Linked DNA regions of Homo sapiens: region 2 is linked to region 1. Evidence: promoter capture Hi-C in 16 types of primary human blood cells and fetal thymus (Javierre and others, 2016). All regions are on one chromosome and are shown on one strand. The core of a region is centred on a gene start or on the middle of the fragment in contact, and the rest is flanking DNA. Distances in the headings are between cores, read along the strand shown.

The links. The method cuts DNA at HindIII sites, captures the fragments that hold promoters and counts their contacts. A CHiCAGO score of 5 or more calls a contact.
Region 2: a contact is called between a fragment that was not itself captured here and the fragment with the promoter of ALG8 in region 1, in 3 of 17 cell types (neutrophils, total CD4 T cells and activated CD4 T cells). The highest score is 5.8, in neutrophils.

The regions. Positions count from the first base shown.
Region 1 is chr11:78,135,711-78,142,038 of GRCh38, reverse strand. ALG8 (ALG8 alpha-1,3-glucosyltransferase) reads left to right here and starts at 2,413. Exons shown (of 13, transcript NM_024079.5): 1 at 2,413-2,545. The coding sequence starts at 2,451. It overlaps KCTD21-AS1 (KCTD21 antisense RNA 1), which reads right to left and starts at 2,246. Exons shown (of 3, transcript NR_102281.1): 1 at 1,967-2,246. RefSeq lists enhancers at 970-1,680, 1,841-1,950, 2,561-2,640, 2,721-2,830. The HindIII fragment of the contact is 5,506 bases long and covers 1-2,682 here.
Region 2 is chr11:78,365,880-78,372,207 of GRCh38, reverse strand. The region is part of intron 1 of GAB2 (GRB2 associated binding protein 2); the gene reads left to right. Among named protein-coding and RNA genes, the nearest start is that of GAB2, 49 kb to the left of the region's middle. RefSeq lists enhancers at 1,080-2,030, 6,180-6,328. The HindIII fragment of the contact is 3,566 bases long and covers 1,696-5,261 here.

The DNA.
Region 1 (6,328 bases), core at 1,164-3,663:
CCTGTAATCCCAGCTACTTGGGAGGCTGAGGCAGAGAATTTCTTAAACCCGGGAAGCAGAGGCTTCAGTGAGCCGAAATTACGCCACTGCACTCCAGGCAATAGAGTGAGACTCCATCTCCAAAAAAAAAAAAAAATGCTTTTAAGAAAAAATGCAAGGCCTTGGAAGTTTTGGTTCTTCTTTCCTCTCCTGTTGCAGATTCACGTTACGGTTTTGGATGGGTGGCAGAAAGTGCATGTCACCTTCGGTGGCACGGTCTGCAGTGGGTGGGCCTCTCTACTGGAAGGTGACCACCTTTAGATACTGAGACAGCAAGTACGAGTGGCCTTCTTTTACCTTCTTTTAACTTATCCTTTTTTGCTGTCTGGTCATCTTCATTGGTCTTCTGCTTCTCGGTGTCAAGATCATCATCATCATCATCTTCAGCTGCCCATTTGACTGTAGCTATTACAGGAAAGTAATCGATTGTAAGGATGGAAGTTGGTTGGAATGATGTGAGGAAGGGGCCAAGGAATGCAGGCAACTTCTAAAAGCTGAAAAAGACAAGAAAAACAATCTCCCTGCAGAGCCTCTGGAAGCAACCAATCCAAATGACACCTTGACTTTACTCCAGTGACTGATTTTAGATTTCTGGTTTACAGAACTGTAAGAGAATAAATTTGTGTTGTTTTAAGCTACTAAGTTTATGGTAATTTCTTACAGCAGAAATAGAAAATTAATGCAAAGTGCCTTTAAAACATCTAAGTAGCTGGGCATGGTGGCGCACAACTGTAATCCCAATACTTTGGGAGGCTGAGGCAGGAAGATCACTTGAGCCCAGGAGTTTGAAACCAGCATGGACAATATAGGGAGATCCCATCTCTACACACACACACACACACGTTGCCACATCCCTGTGGTCCCAGTTACTCAGGAGGCTGAGGTGGGGAGGACTGCTTGAGCCCAGGAGATCGAGGCTGCAGTGAGCTGTGTTTGCACTATTGCCCTCCAGCCTGGGCCACAGAATGAGACCCTGTCTCTCAAAAACAAAACAAAAACATCTACGTGAGGTCAGGTAGCCAACTGGAGACCAGGGTCTGAAAGTGAGAGAAGAGTGCTGAGCTAGAAATCTGTGAATCATATTCACATGGGTGGCAGCTGAAGCTGTGGGAGGGCATAAACTCATATTAGGGAGGTGACACTGTCACCTACTTGCTGTGCATCTTTCAGCAAGATAATTAACTGATCTGACACATTATTGAGCATTTATTCTGTCCTGGAATCATATCAAGCAATTTACATGCATTCTCATTTAATCCTCACAACCAGTTTATGAGGCTGAAACTTTTTTTTTTTTAGACCAAAAGCATCTTGGATAAACAGGCCTGAGGCTTGCCCAGGCTGAAGTGCAATGGCGCGATCTCAGCTCACTGCAACCTCCGCCTCCCACGTTCACGCGATTCTCTAGCTTCAGCCTCCCGAGTAGGTGGAATTACAAGCGCCCGCCACCATGCACGGCTAATTTTTTTTTAATTTTTAGTAGAGACAGGGTTTCACCATATTGGCCAGGCTGATCTCAAACTCCTGAACTCAGGTGATTCGCCCACCTCGGCCTCCCAGTGTTGGGATTACAGGCGTGAGCCACCGCGTCCGGCCAGAAACCATTTTTATCTCCTATTTTCAAAAATAAATAAATAAATAAAAATTTTAAAAAAAGAAACTGAGGTTTAGAGTTTAGTTTGTCCAAGATCATACAGTAAAATAATGAGACAAGCCTAATTAAATTGCATGTGCCTCAGTCATTACGCAATCTGCGAGTTTGTTGGGCCTACTGAATCAGAATCCGAATTATTTTAACATGAACCGTAGGCTATTTGTACACTAAGCGTTAGGACTAGCCTCTACCCTGCTTCCAGAATGGGTTCCGCTCAAGCAGGAGGTGAGCCAAGAGCCTCGCTCAGAGTTCTAAAAACACAATGTTTCTCACCTCTGTATCTTTGCACATGCCATTCTCTAGCTGGATTTAATACTCCGGTGCAAGCGTCCAGGTTGGGAGCCCCCGCAGTTCTCTGAGGTACTTTTATCTACTGTAACTCTAGGGCAACAATCCTGGCTTCTCCACTAGTGCGTGAACGTCTCTAGCGTTAAGTTTTTTTCTCACCTAAGTATCCCCAATACTACACAGTGATGACCCAGCGCAAACGACCACTCTTTCAACGCAAGCATGAACTAGCTGATAAAACTTAAAAGTGGCTACAAACGCCTGCGCAGGAGCCCTTCCGGCCCGGGGTGAGACGCGGGTCTAAAGAAAAGGTGGGCGGGAGGTTTAAATAGCTGACTGCAGTCCCCGGACTGGCTGCGCCGCTCGCCGCATGCGCGCAGCTAGCGGGCACGGCTTCAGAGGGCTTTCTCCGCATGCGCGGGATCCCGGATGTGGATCAAGTTGGTGGGAAGCGTGCGGTGCCGCAGCAATGGCGGCGCTCACAATTGCCACGGGTACTGGCAATTGGTTTTCGGCTTTGGCGCTCGGGGTGACTCTTCTCAAATGCCTTCTCATCCCCACATAGTAAGGGACTCGCACGGCCAGGGGCTGGGCGGGGAGGCCCCGCGGTCGGTCAGGGCGGGAGAGAAAGGTGTGGATATCCCTGGGTATGAAGAGAAAACTTTAGGTCGTGTTTGTCGCTATCCTGCCTTTGCTAAGCTTTCTGTTTCGCCAGTTGTTACTTGACTTAGCCCCAGCTGGCTAGGTTCAGACCTGGCGCTGTCTGATTTGGAACAAATCACTTTAACGTTTCTGAACCTCAGGGTCCTCATCCTTAATAGGCAGTTAAGAACCTCTGCCTCCAACAGCCATTCAGCCAGTATTATCAGATGCCTGAGGTGCCAGGTACCGTTCTAACTCCCGGGAGATGCGGTGGTGAGCAAGACATTGCTGGTCCTTGCCCTCGAAGTTGGTGGGTGGAGCTAGACAAACAGGAACTTTTCAGATTGTGATAAAGGAAATAGAGGGTTACTAAGTGGCTGTGCGCTATTCCTTTAGAAGGTGATGTTTGAGTTGAAATTCAAAAAATGAAAAAGAATAAGTGATGTGGAAAGCAGTTCAGGCATAGGAAAGAGTAAGTTCAAAGGCCCTGTGGCAGGAAAGAAGTCAGAGCATTCTAGGAACAGAAAGTGCCCCTTGTGGCTGCAGAGCATTGAGGGAGAGGAGTGGCACAGCATGGGGTGCACTGGGGACAGATAACACAGGGTTTCGAAGACCACAGTTAGACTGCTGTGTAAAAAATGGATGTAGGGCCAAGACTGAAAGCGTGGAAACCAAGAAGCAACCATGAAATGGTGGTGTGTATACAGTAGGTACTCAGTATTTATTAATATTGGCTTCCGCCTTCCCTTCATCCTTCCTCTTTTTTCTTTTTCTCCCTCATCCCTTTTCTCCTTTCCCTCCCACTTCCTAGTTTAGGGTTTGTTTTATTGGTATCCTTTGATTCAGGCTCTTGGTGATCTCTTGTTGAATATGGGAGAGTCATATGTATAGAATGTAAGTCCATACTGATGCGTATATGTAATCATGTAAGTGGAATGTATATGTAGATTCAGTAAAATGATTAACTGTAGGTCTGTGCATAAGATTATTTCTTGCTTTAGTTGCCTCAGGCTAGAAATGTATCCTCAGAGTTGTTTTTTTTGTTTGTTATTTTTTTTTTTTTTGAGACAGTCTCGTCCCACTCTGTCACCCAGGCTGGAGTACAGTGGCACGATCTCAGCTTACTGCAACCTCTGCCTCCCGGGTTCAAACGATTCTCCTGCCTCAGCCTCCGGAGTAGCTGGGATTACAGGCTTGCACCACCGCGCCAGGCTAATTTTTGTATTTTTAGTAGAGATGGGGTTTCACCATGATGGCGGAGGGCTGATCTCAAATCTCCTGACCTCAAGTGATCCACCTGCCTCGGCCTCCCATAATGTTGGGATTACAGGCATGAGCCACCGTGCCTGGCCAGAGTTGTTATTTTGAATACTGCTCTTGGTCCAGGTTAAGAATGTATATAGCGCTCACTTTGGCAGCACATGTACAGGAATACCTCATTTTTTGTACTTTGCTTTATTGCACTTCACAGATACTGCATTTTCATTTTTTTTACAAATTGAAGGCTGCGGTAACTCTCCATTGAGCAACTCTATCAATGCCATTTTTCTAACATCATGTGCTCATTTTGTGTCTGTGTTACATTTTGGTAAATCTTGAAATATTTCACACTTTTTCATTGCTATTATATTTGTTATGATCTGTAATCAGTGATCTTTGATACTACTATTCTGATTGCTTTGGGGCAACACTATGGTGAACTTAATAAATGCTGTGTGTTCTGACTGCTCTATCAACCAGCTGTTCCATCATCTCTCTCCCTCTCCTCAGGCCTTGCTGTTGACTGAGATACAATAATAAAGTTAGGCCAATTAATAGCCCTACAGTGGCATCTAAGTGTTCAAGTGAGAGGAAGAGTCACATATCTCTGACTTTAAATCAAAAGCTAGAAATGATTGAGCTTGATGAGGAAGGCATCCTGAAAGCCAAGACGGGCTGAAAGCTAGGCCCATTGTGCCAAACAGCCAAGTTGTGAGTGCAGAGGAAAAGTTCTTGAAGGAAACTAAAAGTGCTACTCCAGTGAATACACAAGTGATAAGAAAGTGAAACAACCTTGATGATATGGAGAATGTTTTAGTGGTCTGGATAGATCAAACCAGCCATAACATTCCCTTAAGCCAAAACCTTATCCAGAGCAAGGCCCTAAGTCTTCAATTCTTTGAAGCCTAAGAGAGGTGAGGAAGTTGCAGAAGAAAATTTGGAAGCTAGCAGAGGTTCTTTTAAGAAAAGAAGCCATCGGCCGGACGCGGTGGCTCATGCCTGTGATCCCAGCACTTCGGTAGGCCAAGACGGGCGGATCACCTGAGGACCAACATGGAGAAATCTCGTCTCTACTAAAAATACAAAATTAGCTGGGCGTGGTGGAGCATGCCTGTGATCCCAGGTACTTGGGAGGCTGAGGCAGGAGAATCACTTGAACCCGGGAGGTGGAGGTTGCAGTGAGCTGAGATCGCGCTATTGCACTCCAGCCTGGGCAACAAGAGTGAAACTCTGTCTCAAAAAAAAAAAAAGGAAGAAAAGAAGCCATCTCCATAATAAAGTACAAGGTGAAGCAGCAAGTGCTGATGTAGAAGCTGCAGTAAGTTTTCTAGAAGATCTAGCTAAGCTCACTGATGAAGGTGGCTACACTAAACAATAGGTTTTCAAGGTAGAAGAAACAGACTTACATTGGAAGATGCCATCTATGACATCTAGTTGAGCCATTTCTCACTTACTATTCTAAAAATCCAATGGCCCTTAAGACTTATGCTAAATCTACTCTGCCTGTGATCTATAAATGGAACAACAAAGCCCTGGATGACAGCACATCTATTTACAGCATGGTTTACTGAATAAGCCCACTGTTGAGACCTACTGCTCAGAAACATTTTTTTTTTCTAGAGGCAGGGTCTCGCTCTATCTCCCAGGGTGAAGTACAGCGGCACCATCATGGCTCACTGCAGCCTTAATCTCCTGCGCTTGAGCAGCCTTCCTCCCTCAGCCTCCCGAATAGCTGGGACAAAGACAGATGCCACCATGCCCAGCTAATTTTTTTTCCTTTCTCTCTCTATTATCTGTCTGTCTATCTATCTATATGTGTGTGTTTTGTTTTGGTTTGTTTTTTTTTTTTCTTTTTGGTAGAGACGAGGTGTCACTGTGTTGCCCAGGCTGATCTCGAACTCCTGGGCTCAAGTGAGCCCTTCCAAAGTGCTGGGATTACAGGCCTGAGCCACCTCACTGGTCAATATTTTTCCTTTTTCTTTTCTTTTTTGAGACAGTGTTTCACTTTGTCAGGCTGGAGTGCACTGGTATGATCTCAGCTCACTGCTGCCTCTACTTCCTGGGCTCAAACAATCCTCCCATCTCAGCTCCCCAAGTAGCTTGAACTACAGGTGCACACCACTACACCCAGCTAACTTTTTGTATTTTTTGCAGAGATGGGGTTTCACCATGTTGCCCAGGCTCGTCTCAAATTCCTGACCTCAAGCGATCCACCTGTCTTGGCCTCCCAAAGTGCTAGGATTACAGACATGAGCCACTGCACCCACCCATTATTTTTCTTTTTTTTTTTTCTTATTTATTTATGTTTGAGACGGAGTTTCACTCTGTCTCCCATGCTGGAGTGTAGTGGCACAATCTCAGCTCACTGCAACCTCAGCTTCCCGGGTTCGAGTGATTCTCCTGCTTCAGCCACCCAAGTAGCTGGGATTACAGGTGCACACCATC
Region 2 (6,328 bases), core at 2,229-4,728, 230 kb before region 1:
TGTAAACTTATAGAGGATGGTATTTTGTACAAAGCCTGGCACACAGCAGACATTCAGTAAAAATGCATAGAATTAAAAGAAAAGGAAAAAAAGCAGATACCTTTTACTCATAGCAGTAATCTCTCTTCTGCTCCCCCTACCTTGGTCAGGATAAGAGTGCCTTGTGACATGGATTAACACCATACGAGTAATAGTTTATATTATTTAATCTCATTTCTTAAACTAGCCCTACAAAATATAGTATGATTTTGATTTTATGTTTATGGGAATGAAGGTTTTAGAGGGTCTATGTCACTTGCCCAAATATTACCCTTGTAATAAGAGATGGAACTGGGATTGGAATGTAAATGTGTCTAGCTTCAAAACCTTTTATTTATTTTTTTTCTACCTTTCTGGCCGGTACAGCTGTCAGACTATGTTTAGAAGTCTCATGGGTCCTTCAAGTGACTTTACTAATGGTCTTATGAAAAGCTGTCTCCCCTGAGAATTGGTGTTTGACGTTCTTGGTTCATTCAGCAAATGTGTGCTTAGCCCCAGCTATAAGCATGAACTGTACTAGACAGCAAAGGTGGACACCAAAGAAATAATCCCATCCTCATGGAGCTGCCAGTGTAGTGAGTGATCATAAATATAAACAATGTTGGGCAGAGTGATGTTAGCAGTATAACGTGAGGTTGTCCTGGAGGAACACGGAAGAGGGATTGAATGAGGGAAGGAAAAGAATCAGCCCCTCTTATGTAAGAGGCAGCACTATGTCTGCCAGAGCCTAACATCTCTTTTAGCCACCTTAGCTCATTTAATCTTCACTATAACCATGTAATATCCTGATTATACAGATCAGCAACCTACTTGGCGTTTCACAACAAGGAGCAGATGGATAGGATTTTCAATCTCAGAACTGTCTGGCTGCAAGTCCCTGCCCTTTTCATTAGACTACTGAGTATAGACTAAGTATAGGTTTTTCCTAATGTATGTTTTTTAAATACATGATAGTTAAAGTTCTATTCTGTATACAAGGGTATGCGTTGTGTGAGACTCAGTGTGTCTATCGAGATGCCCTTGGTTCTGTCTGCACCTCAGGCAGTCTGCTTGCTCAGTGGTGAGTCTTCAGATGTTGCTGCTTTTGCCACGTTTTCTAACAGTGCTGGCTGTCTCATCTTCCCTCTGTGAGGGTGGGGCTCTGGTTTGGTCTCTGTTAAGTCCATTGTGGAGAGAACTACAGCAACTCATGTGCCTAAGCCCCATTTGGCCAGACCCTGGCCTCTCCTACCACTTTCAAGTTCAAACGTGGGGTGTGTTCTTCCCCAGTGACTGTCCAGAGTGGCTGGGTAAACACAGCCTGGAAGTAGGGAGTGAGGGCAGTTGACATCACTGACCAGAGCAGTTGGAAGCTGGAGAAGGGAAGGAGCCAGCAGACAAATTGCTTCGTGTCTGCCTGCCTTTCTCCTCCATTTACCCCTTACACACACACACACACACACATACACACACACACGCACACACACATACAATATTAGTAGTTCCATACAACCCATCCTGTAACCTTCTAAATGAGCAGTTGTCTGTGTTTTCATGCTAAGCCGTAGCGGGTTTGTTGATGCATATAGCCTTGGTTTCCTTTCCCTCCTATTCTTTCCTACCAGTCTTTCCCCACTCTCTGCTCTGAGATTGCAACACATGATAAACAGGTAAGCTTTGCTCCAGACTGTTTTCTAGAACCTGGGCACAATAGTAGTCAATAAAAAACATCTTGCCCATCACAGACCCTTGCCCTGTTTGCCCTGTTTTATACCTTGTTATTTTTCACTTAGCATAAATCAGGTAATATTTGAATACTACCATATGATTAATGTGCACCAAAATCCTGTGAGATAAAATAAACCATGAGTGTAGTTCCGTATTTGCATATATAGGTCAATTGTATTTTCTTTTCTTTTTTTTTTTTTTTTTTGAGACGGAGTCTCGCTCTGTCGCCCAGGCTGGAGTGCAGTGGCGGGATCTCAGCTCACTGCAAGCTCCGCCTCCCGGGTTCACGCCATTCTCCTGCCTCAGCCTCCCAAGTAGCTGGGACTACAGGCGCCCGCCACTACGCCCGGCTAATTTTTTGTATTTTTAGTAGAGACGGGGTTTCACCGTTTTAGCCGGGATGGTCTCGATCTCCTGACCTCGTGATCCGCCCGCCTCGGCCTCCCAAAGTGCTGGGATTACAGGCGTGAGCCACCGCGCCCGGCCAGTATTTTCTTTTTTAAAGGAAAGATTATTGCTTTTGTTAAAATGGTACATGTTCGTTATAAATCAAGAAATGCTAAAACAAACAAACAAAAAACCCCACGCCAGATGCCATCATCTGGTGATAACCTTTAGGTGAATAACGTTCTGGGGGCGCTCATGAAGCTCAGCTTTTCTCATTATCTTTATAGTAGTGTCCGAGTATACTACTGTAATTTAACCAACCTGACCAGTTGATAAGCAGTTACAGTATTTTATTTACTTAAAAAATGTGCTGAAATGACCATCCTTATAAATGCCTTTGGATTTTTTAAACTTGTTGGTATGTAAGATATATTTCTCCCCCTGAAAATTTTTATTCAGATACTACCTTGTGACCAACACACCTGTTTTGCAGATGAAAGACTCTGGGCCAAAGCAAAACTAATAGCAAGATAATCTGCCCTTAGGCGACTCTTCTAATGAGAAAGAATGGGAACACAAAACACTGTATAAGGGATGCAAGTTTCACATCCCAGATTTTGGTAACCAAAAGAAACCATAGGCCACACAGCTGATCAGAGGTATATTTGAGCTATTCCATTACATTTTAGATTTTAACTTTGCTACAGTAAGTCATGGCTCAAATACAGTAGAGGCACTGATTGATCATTAAGTTTATATACACTGTAAACTAACCCAGTTAAAAGGCAACAGCACCATATTTTGAAGACAGGGTGACCAAGTTTCTAATGCAATGATTGCCATTGATTAATACAATGAACTGGAGACCAGCAGGGATGATAAATTTTCCTGGCATTGAGAATTACTTATCTGACTTTTTTTTTTTTTTTTTTTGAGACAGGGTCTCTGTCACTCTGTCACCCAGGCTGGAGTGCAGTGGTACAATCATTGCTCACTGCAGCCTTGACCTCCTGGGCTCAAGTGATCCTCCCACCTCAGCCTCCTGAGTAGCTGGGACTACAGGCACATGCCACCATGCCCGTAAATATAAATTTATTTAATAAGTAAATTTATTAATTTTAAACAAATTAAAAAATTTTTTAATTTTTAAAAAATTTGTTTGTAGCGATGGGGTCTCGCTGTGTTTCCCAGGCTGGTCTCAAACTCCTAGCCTCAAGCAATTCTCCCACCTCAGCCTCCCAAAGTGCTGGGGTTATAGGCATGAGCCGCCATGCCTGGACTTATCTGACTTTAAAGATGCTTTTCTGGGGTCTGAAGTTGAAGATTTAAACCTATAGAGTTTATTTTTGCTGTCTTGTCTTTTTTTTTTCAGTTTGTTAACATGCTGTGTAGTTCTGTTACAAACATATGTAGTGAAAGACCAGCTTTTATTAGGGTTAATTGTTCCTTTTCTCATTTGGTATGCACTAGTATTTAGTGAAATTCTTCCTTCGTGTAGTATGCTTTGTTTCTATTTTTATTAAAACATTTGTTTGTATTGTGACTATTTGTGTAGTAATTTATATATTTAATTTGTAGCTTGCTTTTCAGCCATCAGTACTGTATTTCAGTGACTTCTGCACAAACGTGATTTAACTATAGGAAATTTTTTTGTCCAGGATAATTTACATAAAGTCCCTCACTTGAGAATTTCAGGTGACAGAAGTTTACTATATTTCTAAATAGCAAGCCTATTATAGAGTAGATCAGAATTAATCATATTCATGAACAGTATTAATCTGTTGAATAATCAAACCATCAAGGCAGATGCATTGGTTGAGTTGCTGTTCATGGACTTCCTGGTTGAACAAAATGGTCTTGCCATTCTTAGCAAAGAAATACCTCAGCATGTGGCAACTCATGGATGTGGCCAGTAAGTGCTGTGAGAAGTGAACAAAGAATAGAAAATTAAGCACTGACAGCCGGGCGCAGTGGCTCACGCCTGTAATCCCAGCACTTTGGGAGGCCGAGGCGGGCGGATCACGAGGTCAGGAGATTGAGACCATCTTGGCTAACACGGTGAAACCCCGTCTCTACTAAAAATACAAAAAATTAGCCGGGCGCAGTGGCGGGTGCCGGTAGTCCCAGCTACTCGGGAGGCTGAGGCAGGAGAATGGCGTGAATCCGGGAGGCGGAGCTTGCAGTGAGCAGAGATAGCGCCACTGCCTGGGGGGAAGAGCAAGACTCCGTCTCAAAAAAAAAAAAAAAAAAAAAGAAAAAGAAAATTAAGCACTGACATATTCTGAGATGTTTTCTGAAGGAGCTCAGGCTAAATGCTCTCACCTCCTTAATACTGGCTGAGAGGCTGGATCTTCTGCCTGCAGCCCAGTAGCACTTGGTTTATAACACTATATGAAGTGACTGCATCTCTAAGCCAAAAATCATGATACATGTTCTAAGACAGATTATAGACTGGTATCTTTAGCCTGAATTCCATCTATAAAGTGTTTTGCTTGGCCTGCAGTGTTTTAAACACTTTTAATTAGTCGTAGATTGTTAAAAGCTGAGATCTCTTACATAAAATCCGTAAAATGTCCAGCTTCCAGATCTGGGAACACTGGGCCCAAATTTCTGCCTAGCAGCAATTAGCTGGAACTGGGTGGTAGCTTTCCATTTAAGCCAAAGCATATGCTTTCTAGTCTGCTGTATCACATGCACGCACGCACACATACATGCACACACCAGTCACTCATATATGTACCTACCTGACCCTTTACACTTCCAGACCATATGCCCTTCGAAGGCAGGATTTTTGTCTGTTTTGTTCATTGCTTTTTTCTCATGACCAGAATGTTGTCTGGCACAAAGTAGGTTAAAGGATATTGCTAGATGGAGGAAGAATGTATTTGTGACTCTTGGTCCAAGTTGATGGGGGAAAAGAAAACAGAAGTTTTCAATTTGGAGCTCCTCCAGATATTTGAGCTATGTTCCCCTTTACCCCTGAGATACTGTATGGCTCAGGAATATACCTTAGTATCATAATTTTGTATATGACTTATCTCCCTTGCTAGATGGTAAATTCATTGGGTTCAGGGACCTGTCTTGTATTTTTTTGCATCCTTAAGAATACCTTGCACATAATGGAAGCTTAAATACTCCTTGGATGGTTAGTGGGTTTTTAAAATTTCTCATGTAACTTTGTGAATAAAGATGGGGAGATTCTAATGAATATGTTGTTCTGGAGGATCATTTGAGAAGCAACCATTTGAGTTGCTTCTCCACTATATTTTCTCCAAGCCCTATCCCCAATTACATTCTATTCGCCATCATAGTCTGGATGGGGAATAGAATGTAATTGGGGATAGGGCTTGGAGAAAATATAGTGAATATAGAAGGTTTTTGATAATCCTTAACCCCTGCTCTTTGGTAGCAGGGTAAATTAACCCCCCATCCTCACTTTGTGCATATTCTATTTTAGTACTCATCTTTTTTTTTTTTTTTTTTTTTTTTGAGATGGAGTCTTGCTCTGTCGCCCAGCCTGGAATACAGTGGTGTGATCTCAGTTTACTGCAACCTCCACCTCCTGGGTTCAAGCAATTCTCCTGCCTCAGCCTCCCAAGTAGCTGGGACTACAGACATGCACCACTGTACCTGGCTAATTTTTGTATTTTTAGTAGAGACGGAAATCTAATTTCGCCATGTTGGCCAGGCTGGCCTTGAACTCCTGACCTCAGGTGATCCACCTGCCTCGGCCTCCCAAAGTGCTGGGATTACAGGCGTGAGCCACTGTGCCCAGCCTATTTTAGTACTCATCATATTATGTTAAAGAGCTTGTCTCCTACACTGGACTGTGATTTCCCTATCATTAAGAACTCGGTATGGTTTTTGTGCATCTAACAGCTAATACTTGATAATGTTTGTGTGCCAACTCTGTATAAACACTATTCTAGGAACTCAGTAAATGTTTGCATTGAATTGAGTTTGTGTTAGGAGTTGTATTAGAACTCTACACCACCTTATAGTTTATAAAACATATGTATATTCATTGTCTTATTTAATTTTGAAATCAACTGAGTGCTGCAAATGAGAAAAATCAAAGCCCAGAGAAAACTGTAACTGGTCCATAATTACACAGCAGTTAATGGCTGAACATCCAGGCTGAACTTTGCCAGTTAGTGGCTGAATATTCACGAAATTCTGATGCCTCCATAGAGCG